Linked DNA regions of Homo sapiens: region 1 is linked to region 2. The links are contacts of gene promoters, found by promoter capture Hi-C in blood cells and fetal thymus (Javierre and others, 2016). All regions are on one chromosome and are shown on one strand. The core of a region is centred on a gene start or on the middle of the fragment in contact, and the rest is flanking DNA. Distances in the headings are between cores, read along the strand shown.

Region 1 (3,575 bases), core at 441-2,940, 160 kb after region 2:
GTGGTCTTTGTATCAGCTTCTTACATTAGGTATAATGTTTCCAAGGTTTGCCCATGTGGTAACATGTATGAGTATTTTGTTCTCTTGATTGCTAAATAATATTCCATTGTATGGATAGACCACGTTTTATCCGTTCATCGGTTGATGGGCATGTGGGTTGTTTGTACTTTTTGGCTGTTGTGAATAGCACTGCTGTGAAAGTTTGCACGCAGATCTTTGAACACATGTTTTCGATTCTCTTGGGTAGAGGAGTGGAATTGCTGGGTCATAAGATACATTTATGTCTAACTTATTAAGAAACTGCCAAACTGTTTTTCTGAAGTGGCTGTACCATGTTGCATTCCCACCAGCAGTATCTGGGCTTAGTATTGTCTTTGTTGATATTTGAGGTTGCATTTTTGGTCCCTGGTTTCAATGAGAATTTGGGCTGGGAATTCTGGGAGCCACTGGAGCTTGAAGAAATGAATGGCAGGTGGGGGGCATACAACAAAATCGCACATCCTCAGGTGTTCTAAAACAGCACTGTCCCATAGAACATGTAGATGATATATATCTGAACCATCCTGTACGGTAGCCACTACCCGTTGTGGTTACTGAGCACATGACTATGGCTTGTGCAACCGAGGAACTGAATTTGTGATTGCATTTCATTTAAATTAACGTAGAAGTACTAAATTTAAATAACTACAGGAGGCTAGTGGCTGCTGTATTGGACAGTGCAGTTCTAGAAGTTCAGGATCACCACTCAGTATGTTCTGGGTCCTTGAATCTTTCAGAGGATTGAGCAGAGTTCAAACCTTTTAATCATACATAGCTGGAATAGGCGTGGGGCTCAGGGACTAGGGGCTGCATGTACAGGAATATTGTGTCTAGATGGTGCTCAGTGACTCAGAGAAGAGGGGATTTAAATTGGGGCATCTTGTAGAGGCACTAAAAGAGAGTGGACGGGCTCTGGAGCTAGGAGGACCCAGGTGCAAATCCTAGCCCTGTTGCTTCCCAAGCCTGAGACCTGGGGCAACTGACCTATTCCCTCCTAGCCTCAGTTTTCTCATCTGCAAAATGGAAGTACTAATATCTCTCTCGAAGGACTGCTGTGAGGCTCAGAGAATAATTCCTCTAAATCCCCTAGCTCAGTGCCTACCACTTAGTCAGTGTGGGAAAGGATCAGCTTCTGTTATTGTTATCTTTATTGTTGGTACTATTCTGCCTGGCCCCCAGGACTGGATCAATGCCATGTCAGCCCAGAATCCCATCCTCATCCGTGAAAGCTGGGATGTTAGACTGTCAGCATCACACAGGCAGGGACTTTGCGGTGGCCACTGTTGGATCCCCAGTGCCTGGAACAGTGCCTGGCACAGAGGGGATGCTCCTTACATGTTTGTTGAATGAATAAATGCGTACATGCTACTGGCTTGTTGGCAAGCAGCGTGTAGGCATCTTGAGGGTTCCTGGAGAAAACAACACCCTCCTTCAGAAATGTGACTTGAAAAATAGCACTGGGTTCAATGCCAGTGGCGGCCTGTCTTGAGTGAAGGCAGAGACAGCTTCCCTGTCCTTAAATGGCTTCATCCAGCTGGAGCGTGGCTGTGGCTCAGGCCAGTCTAAGGTCATCCAAGGCGGGTGGTAGAATGGGTGAGGCTTGGCCAGGTCAGATCCACCTCCCACCACCAGGGAGCCATAGGAGAGGTTCACACAGTGAAATAACACAGCCCCAAAATGTGCATGGGTTTACATACAGGTAATTCTCCCAGGCCCTAAAACATCAGGATGTGCTCACTTTTCCCACAGCAGTGCCCCCACTCAAGCCTGTTTGGGGGAACCCAGTGGTTTCATCCCTTTCATCTGGAATTTCCTGCTACCCTCACTTCTTTCTTCCCTTTCTTGCTGCTGTTCTTGATCTCTCCTTCCCCACCCTGGACCCTAAAGTGAGATATTTCCATTCTTCCAGAATTATAATTTTTTTGTTTTATTTATGTGAAATATTCTTTAGTTATCAAAATCTTTTCATACTCATTATTGTCATTCCGTGGGCAGAGAAACTTGGTGAGGTGAATATTCATTTAAAAATTGTCTATTAAGGCCAGGTGCGGGTGGCTCATGCCTGTAAGCCCAGCATTTTGGGAGGCCGAGGTGGATAGATCACTTGAGTTCGGGAGTTTGAGACCAGCCTGGCTAACATGGCAAAACCCCATCTCTACTGTAATACAAAAATTAGCCGGGTGTGGTGGTGAACACCTGTAATCCTAGCTACTCAGGAGGCTGAGGTGGGAGAATCGCTTGAACCTGGGAAGCGGAGGTTGCAGTGAGCCGAGATTGTGCCACTGCACTCCAACCTGAGGTACAGAGTGAGACCCTGTCTCAAAAAAAAAAAAAAAAGTGTCTATTGGGTTTGGACCAGGCACTGGCCTAGATGCTGGAGCTATGGAGGTGAACAAAACAGACAAGAGTCCCTGCCCTCCCGGAGCTTTAGTCCTAGGAAGGAGGCTGATATTAAATATGCAGATAACTATCTTTGCAAATGATGTTGAATGCCCTGTGGAAAAGGAGGAAGGAGAAAGTGGATCTGCTTTAGAGGCAGGGGTGCCAGTGGGGCCAGCGAGGGCCCTGCTGAGAAGGTGGCAGCACTGGGGGGGATGGGGAGGGATTGCAGGCTGCAGGTACTGCACATGCAAATGCCCTGAGGTGAGAAAGAGGCTGGCTCATCGGAGGCCCAGGAGCAGCAGGTGTAGCTGGAGTGCATAGAGTTGGGCAGAGAGGGGCCCCCCTAAGGTATAGGAAGCTGTGAGCAGTAGCCTGGCCCTCTAGGCCCAGTGAGAAGTCTGATTTCAATCTAAGACCATGGCAAAAATCATGGACAAGTTTCAAGCCAAGGAAAGAGAAGAGATGATTCACGTTTTGAGCGACTCACTCCATCCACCATGTGGAAAATGCAGGCAAGGGTGGGTGCGGAGAGAGAAGGGAGGAGGCCTCGGAAATAATCCAGGCAGGGGAGGGTAGCAGCTTGGACAAAGGCGGCAGTGGGAGTGGGTATTATTTCTGGACGTTGGCGGGATTGAAGAGACGTGGCTGGGATTCGTTCAACATCACTATTATTCTAGTGGTACAAGTGAGGACACTGAAGCTCGGAGAGGCACGCTGACTTGCCCTGGGGTTAGAGCTAGCAAGAGCAGCAAGCAGGATTCGAACTCGGGCTTTCCTGGTGCTGGAATCTGCATTCTGTACTTCAGTACTACTCTGGGCAGCTCAGTGTGGTATCCAGCCCCATCTCTCTAGCTGAAATGATGCCCACAAACATTATCCCCATTGCGCAGATTAGGAAACAGACTCAGGCGTTAGGATTTCCTGGCTGGAGAACACCAAAGACAGGATTTGAACCCAGCCCACACACCTAAGTTGGGAATGTGCGTGCCCTGCATCCTGGGCCTCTTCAGGCTCTGCAGAAACAAAGGGAATGAGATGGGTGGAGAGAAGGTCACGGATCCACAGGCCCTGGTCTAGGGCAGGCCGGTCTGTCATGCTCAGGTTTTCTCTTAGTCAATAGAGTAAGAACTCAATTCTGCTGAGACGTCTGGGTG
Region 2 (3,399 bases), core at 611-3,110:
TTTACATTACATTAAAAACTTTAATTGCCTCAAAGCACGTGCTCTGAGACACAAATATTGGAAAATCATCAAAAATATCCATCATGATTCTCTCTTCTTTATAACTCTTCTAAACTTTATCTTTTTTATAACCCACTGTATTGATCTATTGTCCCAGACCAAGAGTGATGTCAGAAGTCTAGGCTGGGTCATAAAAAGAATATAATTTCCATTTGCTGTCCATAAAAGCAAATCTTTTGATCAGAGAAAAAGGAAAAACATGTCCCCTTTTTTTGAGTGGGGAAGAGGGTGCGGTGCTATGTATCAGGGGAATAAGCCAGAGAGGAAGGGTGACCTCACCTTTAAGGGTGGTGGCAGGGATAGGCAAGGGGGTTGGTGATGGAGGGGGCTGGGAGTATGAGTTCCCCCTGGAGGTGACATCTCACCTCCAGGGGAAGTGGAAACAGAGGACCTCGAGCTTGCACAGAGGCAAAAACAAACAAACAAACAAACAAACAAACAAACAAAAAAGCAGACAGAAAAATGTAAAACAAGAAATCCAGTCACCCCGGTTGTCAAGAGTCCGAAGAATTGCAAAGGACCGGAACCTCCCTCTAGCCATGCTGAAGACCCTCTCCCCAAAGACAATCACAATAAAGGAATGTCATGTTGCAAAGAACGGAGCCCCGGATAATAATGATGATAACAACAGCAGAAACCTCCGAGGTTTTTAAGGATCCGGAGCCCCCACAGCAGGGGTAGGGCACCCTCAACAGTCATAACAATAAAACAAGCCCACTGGGGGAAAAGGCCCTCCAGAGGTTTGGTTCAGAACCAAATAACAAAACCTCCAATAATCATCATCACAGTAAAAGGGTTTCACCTTGCAAAGCTGTGGGGGAGTCCCTATAATTGGGTTAAAGACCCCCCAGATAATAACAACAGAAATCCCTATTCCAAAGGACCTGAGGCCCCGCCCTCGGCCCCCGCCCGTAAAGAACCCTGAGCTACTACTCAGACGAAGCCCCCCTCCCCGCCAATAATAATAATATAATGGCGCGGAAACTGTGGGCGGTGGTGGTGACATTTCCCACGACTCAGTGGCGCCCCCGGGCGGCTCCCACCCTCCCTCCGGCCGGCGCGTCTACGCAGCCCCAAGTGCTGGCTGCGACCCTCGGATCCCAAGCATATCTGGCGATGGAGCGGCGGCAGCCCGAGGCACGTGTTGTGTGTGCTCCGATTGCAAAAGAAAAAAAAATGCATTTCAAACTATTAACTTTTTTTTAAGCGTGCAATGCCGGGAGCTGGGGGTAGACAGGTGCAAGCGGGGGTAGGCGCCCCGCGCGCCCGCCTCCCGCAGCGCCCCCTCCCAAACTTCCCTTTGCATTGATCAGCACGTTACGTCAGTATTGATAAGTTTGCAAAAAGCCAAAGTCAAGTGCAATCGCGCGGCACACCGACCCCGGACTTGGGGGGGAGATGCAGCGAGCGCTCCGCGGGCCCGGGAGCCGGCGGCAGGCAGGGCAGCGGCGGCGCCGGCGCCTCTCGGAGAGGCTGCCTCCCCCCAACCCCTCCCCTCCCACCCCATCCCCGGCTGCCTCCCCCGGGCGGGCGCCGAGCTCCCCGCCCGGCGCGCTCCGCCCGCGCCCTCCGGGGGTCGGGGGGGCGCACGGCTCCCGGGCCCGTTGGCGGCGGCGGCGGCGGCGGCGCGGCGGCGGCGAGGGGCAGCGGGTGGCAGGAGGCCGGAGGGCGCCCGAGGGGCCCCGGGCCGCGGCGCTCAGGGCCCGGGCGGCCGGCGGCGGCCCCGGGGCTGGGGGGAGTCCAGCCCGGATATTGAGTGCAGCCATTGAGAAAAGCCAAACTCTTGTGTGTGCGCGTCTCGATAGCCCCCAAGATGGCCGCCAATGTGGGATCGATGTTTCAATATTGGAAGCGATTTGATCTACGGCGACTCCAGGTTAGTGCGGGCAGCGCCGGCCGCGCGGCCGTGAGGAGCCCCCGGGCGCGCCCTGGGCGCATTGGGGAGGTCCCCGGGCGGGCAGGCGGACGCCCTGGGGCGGCGGGCGGCGGCTGCCGGGGCTCGCCGGGGCTCGGCCGCCCGCTGCCCATCGATAGGTATTAGGAATTGATCTCGCCGCTGCTCTTTGTTCGGTTCAGTCATCGATTAGCTGCCGCGACCATGGAGAAGCGCTAGTGAGCCCTCGGTCGGCGGAGCGGCCGAGCGGCCAGGCGGCCGGGCGAGGAGCGGGGAAGGCAGGGGCTACGGCCTCGGGCAGGGGGCTGCTGGCGGGAACCCCCGGCGGTCCCCCCTGAGCCGCACTTTGCGCGCCTCCCAACTTCGCGGCGCCCGGGGAGGCCGCGGAGCGCGCCGCTTGCCAGTCCGCACCCGGCTGGGGCTCCGGCGAGGGAGGGAGGGAGCTGGCGGGCAGGGAGGAGGAGGAGGAGAGGAGGAGGAGGAGGAGAGAGGAGGAGGGAGCCGGGGTTGGCGAGGAGGCGGCTCCGCGCCCCGCCGCTCGCCGGCACCTCAGCCTTCGCCGCCCGCCTGGCTGCGCAGCCCGGACGCGCCGCCACCCGGGGGCCGCCGCCGCCGCCGCCAGAGCCGCCGCCGCCGGACTGGCCGCAAGCGCCGGCAGACCTCTTCTCCTCGGGCCGGGGTCTTGGGGTTCGTCTTGCTTCTTGCCTTTACCCCCCCGCCCCTTCCATCCCCTTCCCAAGTCTAGATGCAGACGGGCGGTGGAGGTGGGCCCGGGCGCTCGCAAGTTTGCGCTCCTGCCTCCAGGGCGGTGGAGAGCCGGGAGCGGCGCAGAGCAGGTGACTCCCAGCCCTCGGGCCCAAGGGAACTTTTAAATGAGAGATTTCCTTGCTTGTTCTGCCTCCTGCGTTTCTCCCCGCTGCTCCCCTCGTCTCCTCTCTCCCGTCTCTGCTTTTCTTCTGTTTCTTTCCTCTCTTCCCTGCTCTTTCTCTCTCCTTCCCTAGGGCGACTCTTCGAAACCCCATCACTTTCTCCCCATCCTCCCTTTGTGGGAGTCTGTGTGCCTCCCCTAGATTTGGAGGTGTTCTCTGCGGACCCCGTAGGAGCCGGGGCTGGGAGGTGGAATCTCAGAGAACGCACCGTGGAGGCGCGGCTCCGGCCTCTGTTCTTTCCCGGAGTGCCCCGGACGCGCCTGGCAAGGCCCCCCAGCCTTGGAGTCTCGCAAAGTCTCGGCGGGTGCGGCGGGGATCAGGGGCGGGAAAATGGTGCGGATAACAGGGCGGTTAGAGCATCCTGCCTTGACCGTGACATTCGCGGAAGACGCGAGATCATCAGTCTGGAGATAAAAAGGGACCCACTTTTTTTTTTTTTTTTAATCCGCCGGCAAATCTCGTTAAGTTTCTTCTGATAAGTGGTTCCAGCACCCGCGCCTTCTCCCCGTCCTGGCC

Evidence for each region. The method cuts DNA at HindIII sites, captures the fragments that hold promoters and counts their contacts. A CHiCAGO score of 5 or more calls a contact.
Region 1: a contact is called between a fragment that was not itself captured here and the fragment with the promoter of CUX2 in region 2, in 1 of 17 cell types (M1 macrophages). The highest score is 5.1, in M1 macrophages.

What each region holds. Positions count from the first base shown.
Region 1 is chr12:111,196,115-111,199,689 of GRCh38, forward strand. All of the region lies in intron 1 of CUX2 (cut like homeobox 2), which reads left to right. It overlaps LOC124903018 (a long non-coding RNA gene), which reads left to right. Exons shown (of 2, transcript XR_007063461.1): 2 at 1-3,575. Among named protein-coding and RNA genes, the nearest start is that of MIR6760, 110 kb to the right of the region's middle. The HindIII fragment of the contact is 4,568 bases long and covers 1-3,575 here.
Region 2 is chr12:111,032,305-111,035,703 of GRCh38, forward strand. CUX2 (cut like homeobox 2) reads left to right here and starts at 1,861. Exons shown (of 22, transcript NM_015267.4): 1 at 1,861-1,936. The coding sequence starts at 1,874. The HindIII fragment of the contact is 8,699 bases long and covers 1-3,399 here.